3 separate regions of the Homo sapiens genome follow, and all the other regions are linked to region 1. Evidence: promoter capture Hi-C in human tissues and cell types (Jung and others, 2019). All regions are on one chromosome and are shown on one strand. Each heading gives the region's core, a stretch centred on a gene start or on the middle of the fragment in contact. The rest is flanking DNA. Distances are from core to core; before and after follow the strand shown. Region 1 holds the start of CBX4 (chromobox 4). Region 2 holds the start of CARD14 (caspase recruitment domain family member 14). Region 3 holds the start of EIF4A3 (eukaryotic translation initiation factor 4A3).

Region 1 (3,785 bases), core at 346-2,845:
GAAGGCGATCAGCAGCCTGGGGTCCAGGATGTTCTCCTCCGGTTCCCACGTGTTATATCTTGCAAGGGAAAAGGGAGGGGGACACGGTGTAAAAAAAAAAAAAAAAGCCACCTTTGCCGCGGCCTCCAGGTGGGGAGTGACATAAGGCCCTACTCTGTCTTTATGAACATTTAGCCGTGGATGTGGAAGGTAGATTTCCGCAGGCCTGACGTAGTCCCTGATACACAGCCCCCCCCTCAAATAAACACGCAAGGGCAGGAAGAAAGGGGAGGGGTAAGGAAAATGAAACTAGCAGTTTATTTTGCAGTTGTCAAGAATTTTAAGCATGTTACTGCGACATGTTCCAAAGCCACTTTGCTCACCAGGAACCCTGCGTGCAAAGCAGCCGAAATGCAAAGTCGCAGTCCCCCTCCTCTCCCCAGCCCCGAGTCCCCGCGAGGGCTTCAGCCGTTCTCCATTTGACCCCTAATCCGATAGCCAACAGCCAAGCGTCCCCCCCACACCCCCTCGTGGCCCAGGAGCCCGCTGTCACGGGCGAGCAAACCCCAAATACTCAGCAACACAAAAATATGCCTCCGTGTGTGTGTGTGAGTGTGCGTGTGCCTGCGCGTCTATCTCCATCCGGTGCCTTCGCATTTCAAATTAAAGAAAAAAAATTCTCCACCAAAAGCGCCGCAGTGACAGTTCCCAACATTTTCTGCCTTTCTTCTTCCCCTCCCTGCACCACTAGGAGGGAGAAGGCACACAATTGCATTTTCGTCGCTTTTTAATTTTTTTTTTTTGGTTTTGCAATATGGAGCCGTTCGGTGGAGGGAAAGGGGAAAGGAGCCATTTTCTGCTGCACATCAGTCAGTGCCTGCGCCCTCCCTCCCTCCGCCGGCCTCCCCGGCTCGGCCCCGCGTCTCTCCAGCTCCTCCGGCTCCTTTTAGTGCATAAATTAGTGATGGCATTTCCCGGAGAGCGGAGCACAACACAGGGCGCCGGGCTCGGGCTCGGCGGCTCGGCTTCCCCAGTGCCTGCCACCGACTTCCCCACCCCCTCCTCCCTCCACCCCACCTCCACCCCGCCTCCCGTCCGCTCCCCCCACCCCCCCAGCAGCTCGGCGGGTCCGCGGCCCCGAGCCCCGCGCCTCGGCCCCCGGGCCCCCGCCCTCCGCCGCGACTTACTTGGGCGACCAGCCTCTCCATTTCACCAGATACTCCACTCTGCCCTGGGGGGAAGAGACAGCACTCCATCAGCTTCCGCGGGATCCCCGGCCCGGCCCGCAGCCTCCCCACCCCCTCCCCGCCTCCTCGCGGGCCGCTCCGGCCGCCGCTCGCCGCCCCCGCGCCGCCCTACCTTGCGGATCCGCTTCTTCTCGATGCTCTCCACCGCGAAGACGTGCTCGCCAACAGCTGGCAGCTCCATGGCCGAGCCGGAGCGCGCCGGGGCGCTGGCGGCCGGCGCGGCTGCAGACGCTGCTAGCTCCCGCCGGCGCCCAGCTGCCGCCCCGGCCGAAGCGCCCCCGCCGCCGCCGCCGCTCGCCCCGCACAGCCCGGCCGGCCCGCCGCTGCCCGCGCCCGCCCCGGCTCCCGGCTCGCGCTCGCTCAGACAACTGAGCCCGGGCCGCGGCTGCACAAGAACTCATGCAAATCCCGGACGTCAGCGGGCGGGGCCTCGCCGGGCCCAGCTCGGCGTCAGGGGGCGGGCCGCGGCGCGGATTGGCGCAGCCGGGCCTACCGGAGGCCCCGGGCCTGGGCGGCGGGGGGAGGAGGAAAGGGCGCGGGTGGGGGACGCGGAGGGGAGGGCGCCGGGGAGGTGCAGGGGGAGGGATCGGCGAGCCTGGGAGAGGGAGGCTGCAGAGAGGGAGCGGGACCGGGAAGGAGAGGTGTGTCCGCCGGGGCGGAGGCGGGCGGAGAGCTTGACAGCCCGGAAGGGTCTCGGCGGCGACCCCTCGCCCACATCCCGGTGCCCGGGCCTCCCCCTCGCGGCACGTTCTCAGTGTTCACGGCCCCGGGACCCCTGCTGGGGGCCACGGAAGCATCCGCCGCCGCTCCCAGTTGCACCGAATTGCGTCACCAGCGCCCCGGGACGCGCGGGCCCCGCCGGCAGGGGGCGGAATGGGGCAGGGGCAGCTCGCGCCCCACTGCGGGCCCCGCCTCGCCTCCAGGCTCCGGGCATTTTGGAGCGCGAGGAGGGAAAGGGACAGGGCGGAGAGAAGGCCGAGGACTGGGTGCCAAGGAGAGATTGAAGAACGCACGAGGAAGGGGACCGAGGAGCAGCCAATCCCGGGGCCCTGGCGCCCAAGAACCTCGGCAGAAAGGGCTCCAAATCCGATCCCACCCCGATCCTCAATGGCTCCGAATTTACACTTGGTCCTCTTATTGACGGGGCGAGATGTCCTGTTTCTAGCAGCCTCCAGAGCCAAGCTAGGCGAGAGGCGTAGGAGGCAGAGAGAGCGGGCGCGGGAGGCCAGGGTCCGCCTGGGGGCCTGAGGGGACTTCGTGGGGTCCCGGGAGTGGCCTAGAAACAGGGAGCTGGGAGGGCCGGGAAGAGCTTGAGGCTGAGCGGGGGACGAACGGGCAGCGCAAAGGGGAGATGAACGGAATGGCCGAGGAGCCACGCATTCGCCTTGTGTCCGCGGACCCTTGTTCCCGACAGGCGACCAAGCCAAGGCCCTCCGGACTGACGCGGCCTGAGCAGCAGCGAGTGTGAAGTTTGGCACCTCCGGCGGCGAGACGGCGCGTTCTGGCGCGCGGCTCCTGCGTCCGGCTGGTGGAGCTGCTGCGCCCTATGCGGCCTGCCGAGGGCGCCGCCGAGGGCCCGCGAGCTCCGTGGGGTCGGGGTGGGGGGACCCGGGAGCGGACAGCGCGGCCCGAGGGGCAGGGGCAGGGGCGCGCCTGGCCTGGGGTGTGTCTGGGCCCCGGCTCCGGGCTCTTGAAGGACCGCGAGCAGGAGGCTTGCGCAATCCCTTGGCTGAGCGTCCACGGAGAAAGAAAAAGAGCAAAAGCAGAGCGAGAGTGGAGCGAGGGATGGGGGCGGGCAAAGAGCCATCCGGGTCTCCACCACCGCCCTGACACGCGACCCGGCTGTCTGTTGGGGACCGCACGGGGGCTCGGGCGAGCAGGGGAGGGAGGAGCCTGCGCGGGGCTCGTGTTCGCCCAGGAATCCCGGAGAAGCTCGAAGACGGTCTGGTGTTGAACGCACACGTGGACTCCATTTCATTACCACCTTGCAGCTCTTGCGCCACGGAGGCTGCTGCTGCCCGGCGGCTGCTACCCACCGAGACCCACGTGGCCCCTCCCCAGGGGTGTAGGGGTGACGGTTGTCTTCTGGTGACAGCAGAGGTGTTGGGTTTGCGACTGATCTCTAACGAGCTTGAGGCGCAAACCTAGGATTCCCTGAGTGTTGGGGTGCGGCGGGGGGGCAAGCAAGGTGGGACGACGCCTGCCTGGTTTCCCTGACTAGTTGCGGGGGGTGGGGGCCGGCTCTCAGGGGCCACCAGAAGCTGGGTGGGTGTACAGGAAAATATTTTTCTCCTGCCGTGTTTGGCTTTTTCCTGGCATTTTTGCCCAGGGCGAAGAACTGTCGCGCGGGGCAGCTCCACCGCGGAGGGAGAGGGGTCGCGAGGCTGGCGCGGGAAGCGCTGTAGGTGGCAGTCATCCGTCCACGCCGCACAGGCCGTCTGCGCCGTCGGACCATCGGGAGGTCTGCAGCAACTTTGTCCCGGCCAGTCCCCTTGTCCGGGAAGGGGCTGAGCTTCCCGACACTCTACCCTCCCCCTCTTGAAAATCCCCTGGAAAATC
Region 2 (3,785 bases), core at 863-3,362, 330 kb after region 1:
TTGGCCTCAAGCAATCCTCCCTCCTCAGCCTCTCAATGCACTGGGGTTACAGGCATGAGCCACTGCACCTAGCCTAAGATATGGTTTTTGACCTCAGAAAACACAGGGTCCTTCAGGGTTGTGGCTTCCTTGACTGTTTCTTTTTATTTTATTTTATTTTAGGTTCCGGGATACATGTGCAGAATGTGCAGGTTTGTTACATAAGTAGACATGTGCCATGGTGGTTTGCTACACCTGTCAACCCATCACCTAGGTTTTAAGCCCCACGTGCATTAGCTATTTGTCCTGATGCTCTCCCTCCACTCCCCCTACCATAGGCCCCAGTGTGTGTTGTTCCCCTCCCTGTGTCCATGTGTTCTCATTGTTCAGCTCCCACTTATGAGTGAGAACATGCAGTGTTTGGGTTTCTGTTCCCATGTTAGTTTGCTGAGAATGATGGCTTCCAGCTTCATCCATGTCTCTGCAAAGGCCCTTCATTCCTTTCTATGGCTGCACCTTGACTATTTCTATGGCTATTTCTGTTCTTAGGGAGGCTCCTCCCATCTCCAGTGCATTCTTCTGCCCCCCTCTTTTACTGGGAATGGCGGCATTTCTTTGCGTTTTCTGTAACTAGAATTCTCTGTGTGGCTGGCACAGTGTGATGAGCTGGCAAGCTTCCCCACTGTGGGGGAGGGCTTATCATGAGGTCTGCTGGAGGAAACTAAGAGAGCTGAGCCTTAGGGGCTTAAATGAACTGCCTGAGGGGAAGCTGACACCCAGTGGGGCTGTAACCCTGGTTGGAGAGTTCATGTCTGCACCTGGCCTCGGCCTGCGTTCTCACTTGCTCTGCCCAACTGGCTGTGCCTTCAGCCGGCTCATCACCAGGAGATTTGGGTTGGAGCTACTGCTCAGCCACCATGAGCTACATGACCTTGAAGGCCGATCTTTGATTGTCCGCAGGATAATCCTGAAGGTTCTCAGGCCATGGACCTGTGAATTTCCCTTCTTTCAGTGTCTGCATCATTGGGAACCAAGCCCCTAACCAATGTTTATTCATTCGCTCAACCAATATTTGTGGAATATCACAGCCCTAGGGGTGGGGACACAGCAGGGAACAAGAAAGACAAGAATTATTGTCCTCAGTAGGTTACTGTGGAGTGGGGAGGCTGGCAGGAAGCCACGTAACTAGAATACACGTTAGGTCAAGGCAGTATTCCCACAGAGAAGATGGAACAGGGAAGGGGAGTGAAGGCCAGGATGGGAGGTCTACGGACTTAAGTAGGATGATCTGGGAAGTAGCATTTGAGTAGAGTCTGGAAGGAGGGATGGGAAAGAGTGTTCCAGGCAGTGGGAACAGCAGGTGCAAAGGCCCTGGGGCAGAAGTGTGCCTGGACTGTCAAGACTGTTGGGCTGTGTGTCTGGAGCAGGTAAAAGAGAGATAAGGTCAGCAAGGACCTGATAAGCAGAGCCTCATGGTCACGCTGAGGACTCCAGGACCTGTACACCGAAGGGAATGACAGGAGCTGACTCATGCCCTAGCAGGACTTCTCTGTCTGCTGTGTTGAGCGCTGGTGATGGGGGCGTGGGAAGAAGTTAGGAGCCATTACAGAGGTCCCGGTGGGCCATGATCAGGACACCACAATGCAGGTGGTGAGAATGGATCGGATTCTAGACATATCTCAAGGTGGAGGACCAAGACTTTCATCTAAATCTAAACAATAGTTATGAAATGTTAACTTGAGATGGATCTATTGGAATTATTCAGATACTTCCAATAATGGATCATGAGAACCAAGAAAGGCCCTAGAATTTATCCTGATCTTCGTAGGATTTTCCCAAGGGTAGAAATGATGATGAACTGGGTGACCGTTCACAAAGGAGAGAGGATTCCCAGCCCCCAAGCCTGAAGCCTTCCCCTCAATCACCCTCAATCACCATCTTCTGTGGGTCGACCAGATGCACGGACTGTTCTCAGCCATCCCTGTGGTTCTTACGGCAATGTCTAGCTGTGGGACTGCACTGGTGCTTCGATGGCTCATAGAAGCCCCATATAAGGCACTGCTCCTGTGGGATGTGCCTGTCAAACCTGCTTGTCCACTGCCGTTCAGTTCAGCCAGAGATTGGGCCACATTCAGTCCTCGCTTCCCTGGGAGGGGGAAGGTAAGTGCGCGCAGTCCATCCGGCGAAGAGCAGGTCAGCCTACGGAGGGCTCAGCCTACGGAGGGGCTCAGCCGACACAGGTCTGATGGGGCCCGAGAGTGGTCCCAGGGGAGTGGGAGGGGCCGGCATCTTCCTCATCAGGAGTGGAGGAGCTGCCTTGTATGTGGACTAGAGAACAGAAAACGGCTTGTCTGTGTTGCTGGGTCAATCACTGGAACATTCTCTGAATGCTGAGTTCTGCCTTAAAACAGCATGGGTCATGCTAGATGAAAGGGATCTCTGTTTTATACTCTCATCTCTTCGCTATTGCCGTGGGATGAAAGACAGCAGAAGGAAGGTGTCTAAGTTCAGAACAAAGTGAGCAAGACCAGCTGGCTGCTGTTGGTAGCAGAGGCACAGCCAGCCTGTCATGGCACTGGGGGGCCGAGGTGAGCTGTGCCCCCTCCTCCTGGGCTTGTGACCCTCTGCCCCCCATGGGGTATGTACATGTGTGTGTGTGCGTGTGCGTGTGTGTATGTGTACATGCCTTCTTCCCTACTTCACTGGCAAGGGAAGAGACTGACACTTGGGTTAGGAGAAGGATGTTGACCTGGGAGGGGTCAAATAAGGAGAACCCACATCTTAGATGCTCAGGATTTTATGATCTTAGGCTCTTCTAGAATTGCTGTACAGTTAGATTCAGAGTTTGGAATTAGAGATCTCTGGGCCCTCCCCTCCCCTCCCGTCCCCTCCCCTCCCGTCCCCTCCCCTCCTCTCCCCTCCCCTCCTCTCCCCTCTCCTCCCCTCCCCTCTTCTCTCCTTTTTCAGAAGTCTCCCTCTGTCGCCCAGGCTAGAGTTGCAGTGGCACAATCTCGGCTCACTGCAATTTCTGCCTCCTGGGTTCAGGTGATTCTCCTGCCTCAGTCTCCCAAGTAGCTGGGACTATAGGTGCACGCCACCACACCTGGTTAATTTTTTTATTTTTAGTAGAGACAGGGTTTTGTCACGTTGGCTAGGCTGGTCTCAAACTCCTGACTTCAGGTAATCCGCCCATCTTGGTCTCCCAAAGTGCTGGGATTACGGGCGTGAGCCACGGCTCCTGGCGCCTTCCCATTCACCTTCCCCTTCCCCTCCCCTTCCTCCCTCCCTCCCTCCCTCCCTCCCTCCCTCCCTTCCTTCCTTCCTTCCTTCCTTCCTTCCTTCCTTCCTTCTCTCTCTCCTTCCCTTCCTTCCTCTCTCTTTCTTTTCTTCTTTTCTTTCTTTCTTTCTCTCTCTCTCTCTTTCTTTCTTTTCCTTTTTTTGAGCCAGGGTCTTGCTCTGTCACCCAGGCTGGAGGGCAGTGGCACAATCATAGCTCACTGCAGCCTTGAACTCTTGAGCTCAAGCAATCCTCCTGCCTTGGCCTCCAAAGTGCTGGGATTACAGGCCTGAGCCACTGTGCCCAGCCCTAAGGTTTTTTGTTTTGTTTTGTTTTGTTTTACTGTTAGGACTAACCCTTATTTACACTGGGACAAGTTACAAAGAAACTCCTGCAATTGTTAACTGCCATTGGAGACTACTGTAAGTTGCTTCATGGCAACTGCAGAAGGGACTAGTGACTTCTATTTAGCTCCACCCACTGATGCTTGAAGTTCAGTGTGGCTCTGGGGGCTCCAGAAGCCTGAGGG
Region 3 (3,785 bases), core at 479-2,978, 310 kb after region 1:
CTAAAAATACAAAAATTAGTAGGACGTGGTGGCCCACACCTATAATCCCAGCTACTCGGGAGGCTGAGGCAAAGGAATCGCTTGAGCCCCAGAAGTGGAAGTTGCAATAAGCTGAGATCATGCCACTACACTCCAGCCTTGGTGACAAGAGCAGGACTGTCAGAAGGAAAAGGAAGAAAGAAAAGGAAGAGAACTACAGGATAAAAAATGTCCCTGTCCCAAGCATTAAACACAGGCCATTTATCCCAGATGCTGGTCATTCCCATCTATGTGCCCAACCCAACCTCTTCTCCAGGCTCTCCCTCAACTTCCTCACATCTTTCAAACATACCAAGAGACAGCTCCTGATTCTGACTCTCTGGAGTGCTGCCTACCTAGCCAAATGTTTGCAGCATCAACCACCGGTTACTCAAAACACTCCAACTCTCCTCCTTCTGTCACTCACGTTCAATCCATCAGCCAATGCTGTCAGCTCCCTGGTACTCCATCTCCAAGGCAGCACAATCCTCTCTTCCCTGAACTGCAGCAAAAGCTCCCAACTCTCTTGTTTCCTCTCCTGCCTTGCCTCGCCTCACCTCAAATCTACAGACACCCAGAAGAATCTTTAAAACTGTAAATGTGATCGTGTCACATAGCTACTTAAAACCTTCCACTGGCTTCCCACTAGATTTCTAAATGAAATTCAAATTATTCGTCACCCTACACGTCTTTGCTAGATCTGCCCCGACTAGCTCTCCAAAATCCCACCACAGGGGACTTCTTTCAGTTCCTGGAATGCAGCTGGCTAAGGGCTGCAAGGCCCTGGCACCAGCTGTTCCTTCTGCCCCAACTGCTCTTCCCTCTTCTCATAACAGTCTCCTTCATCCAGAACTCTGCTCAAATGGCACCCCCTCCTGCGAACCCCCTTACCTCTCTGCTTTACTAATTCTCTCCTCCTTCCCAGTCCCACTCTATTCAATTACCCCGCTTCAGGTTCTTCAGGTTGCCTGGGCAACCTGACAGTATGCTTTCCCCCCAAACGAAATTCAAAACCCGTAAAGGCGCAAACCCTTCCGGTTTACCGCCAAAACCCCAGTACCTAGAAAAGCTAATAGGTAGAAATCAGTTATCTGCTGAATGAAGGACGCTGAGGTGCCTCGAAGCGGCTGCAGCCCCCGACAGACCCAGCGCCGAGCTCTGCACGGGGGACACACACCGAAAGCGCCGACACAGCCAGGCGTGAGGGCGAGGACGGGGGTGGGGGTGGGGGTCGGACGTCACTGGCCCCCGAGCCTCGACCCTGACCACGACCTCCGGAGCGCAGGGCCGGCCCGGGAGTCACCAGTCTGGCCCTCAGCCCCCGGCTCGCCCCCGACTCGCCCCCGGCTGGCCCCCGCGGCCCGCGCCCGCTCACCGTAAGCGTAGATGCCCCGCAGCAGGTCCTCCCGCAGGCCCATGGTGTCGAACGTGGGGGTCACATCCACCTCCTCGCTGGTCTCGAATTCCACTTTAGTCATGTCTTCCTCTTTGAGCAGCCGCTTTCGCGCCGAGCCCGAGGTCGCCATCGTGGCCGTGGTCGCCATGATTCAGAGTCCGCGGAAGAGCACAGCGCGCGCCGCTGCCGACCTCGCTGCCGCTGCCGACCTCGCTGTGCCGCTGCCGACCTCGCTGCCGCTGCCGACCTCGCTGTGCCGCTGCCGACCTCGCTGTGCCGCTGCCGACCTCGCTGTGCCGCTGCCGACCTCGCTGTGCCGCTGCCGAGAACAGACGCCTTAAGTATGCGAAAGCGAGAGACGTGCGTGCGTACGTGCGTACGTGCGTACGCGCGACGCGGCCACGCCTCTGGGGGACGGGGCACTCTTCGTCACGTGAAAGGGAACTGGGCGTTTGCCGCAGGGAAAAGTAAGGTGTTTCTGCTCTCGCGCCATATGCAGTTCCCGCGGGATCTCGTTGAGGGCGGGGCACCCAGTTCCTTACGAAAGGGATGGAGGGGGTGGTACTTCTAAAGTTGGCGGTGTTTCGTACCGGCCGCGGGATTTCGCGGACTGGGGCGCTGAGGTTCTTTGAGCGGCGTGTGGACCTGAATTCCCTGGAAACAGGCTGGGGCCGCGAGGGGCCTCCGCTCCGGGCGGGGTCCCCAGATAGCCCCGCCTCGAATAAAAATGACGAGCACGGGTCCTCTCTCGGGCCCGCAGTGGGTGGACTGCGTCGCAGACCCGTAGTGGAGGCGCCCAGCTCGCCGGGGAGATTCGAGTGGAAACCCTCACGGCCGCCGGTGGTGGGCCCCGGCGCGGCGCTGGGCTCCGGCGGGTCTGCGCTGGGGAGGGCCAGGGCCCCTGAAGCCGGCGTCCCTCTTAGGGGACGCGCCTGGGTGTGTCTTCACCGTTTGCCTGGTGAGTTGGAGACAGGGTCTCGCTCCGTCGCCCAGGCTGGAGTGCAGTGGTAGGATCAGGGTTCATTGTAGCCTCCGCCTCAGCCTCTGGAGTAGCTGGGACCTCAGGCGCGCGCCACCACGCCCGGCTAATTTTTTAAATTTTTTTGTAGAGACGGGGTTGGGGGAGGCGGGGGTTAGGGTTGTCCTGGCTGGTCTTGAACTGCGGGGCCTCAGGTGATCCGCCTGCCTTGGCCTCCCAAAGTGCTGGGATTACAGGCATGAGCCACTGTGCCCGGCAAGCAGCTGTTATAAATAAAATACATGCTGAGCCTGCAATTTGCTCTTAATGAAGGCCACTTGTCAGTAGACGGTGCTGCTAATGCGTGTCCTGCAGCAAAGATAACCCAGACGGGATCATTTTTTAATTGCCCAGCAGAACTTTAACCAGTTGTGCATCTTAACCTGCTTTTTGTTTGTTCGTTTGTTTGTTTTGAGACAGTCTGGCCCTGTCGCCCAGGCTGGAGTGCCATGGCGCGATCTCGGTTCACTGCAGCCTCCACCTCCCGAGCACAGGCGATCCTCCCGCCTCAGCCTCCAGAGCACCTGGGACCACAGGTGTCCACGCGCAGCCACTAACCGCTTTCTTATCTGACACTTTAAGTGCTTCTTCGTACCCAGCTCCTCTAACGCCTTTTGAAGCAGCTCCATCATCTTTGAAGGGCAGTTCATGCTGTTGAGAATCATGTTTTTAACTTTGGGAAAATTGTATTTCCACGAGCGCCAGCTCTGTCCTTTTTTTTTTTTTTTTTTTTTTTTTTTTTTGACGGAGTCTTGCTCGGTTCGCCCAGGCTGGAGTGCAGTGTCGCGATCTCAGCTCACTGCAAGTTCTGTCGCCCAGGTTCACGCCATTCTCCTGCCTCAGCCTCCCAAATAGCTGGGACTACAGACACGCGCCACCACGCCCAGCTAATTTTCTGTATTTTTAGTATAGACCGGGTTTCACCATGTTGGCCAGGATGGTCTTGATCTCTTGACCTCATGATCCGCCCACCTCGGCTTCCCAAAGTGCTAGGATTACAGGCGTGAGCCACCGCGCCCCGCTATTTTGTGTGTGTGTGTGTGTGTGTGTGTGTGTGTGTGTGACAGAGTCTCGCTCTGTTCCCCAGGCTGGAGTGCAGTGGCGCAATCTTGGCTCACTGCAACCTCTGCCTCCCGGTTCAAGCGACTCCCCTTCCTCACCCTCCTGAGTAGCTAGGATTACAGGCATGCACCACCACGCCCGGCTAATTTTTGTATTTTTAGTAGAGATGGGGTTTCCCCGTGTTGGTCAGGCTGGTCTTGAACTCCTGACCTCATGATCTGCCCGCTTCAGCCTCCTAAAATGCTGGGATTACAGGCATGAGCCCGGTCCTGTCCTTTCTTATGGTCACAA

Evidence for each region. Contacts are between HindIII fragments. The study calls those that stand out against the background at their distance.
Region 2: a contact is called between the fragment with the promoter of CARD14 here and the fragment with the promoter of CBX4 in region 1, in 1 of the 25 tissues and cell types used here (pancreas).
Region 3: the fragment with the promoter of EIF4A3 here is called in contact with the fragment with the promoter of CBX4 in region 1 in 1 of the 25 tissues and cell types used here (liver).

What each region holds. Positions count from the first base shown.
Region 1 is chr17:79,837,845-79,841,629 of GRCh38, forward strand. CBX4 (chromobox 4) reads right to left here and starts at 1,596. Exons shown (of 5, transcript NM_003655.3): 1 at 1,339-1,596; 2 at 1,167-1,210; 3 at 1-58. The coding sequence starts at 1,407. RefSeq lists enhancers at 1-611, 612-1,433, 3,078-3,785 and a silencer at 1,483-2,192. The HindIII fragment of the contact is 26,084 bases long and covers 1-3,785 here.
Region 2 is chr17:80,167,918-80,171,702 of GRCh38, forward strand. It overlaps CARD14 (caspase recruitment domain family member 14), which reads left to right and starts at 2,113. Exons shown (of 24, transcript NM_001366385.1): 1 at 2,113-2,139. The HindIII fragment of the contact is 21,960 bases long and covers 1-3,785 here.
Region 3 is chr17:80,145,400-80,149,184 of GRCh38, forward strand. EIF4A3 (eukaryotic translation initiation factor 4A3) reads right to left here and starts at 1,729. Exons shown (of 12, transcript NM_014740.4): 1 at 1,394-1,729. The coding sequence starts at 1,562. RefSeq lists enhancers at 956-1,670, 1,671-2,383, 2,384-3,097, 3,098-3,785 and silencers at 1,308-1,357, 2,198-2,387. The HindIII fragment of the contact is 11,065 bases long and covers 1-3,785 here.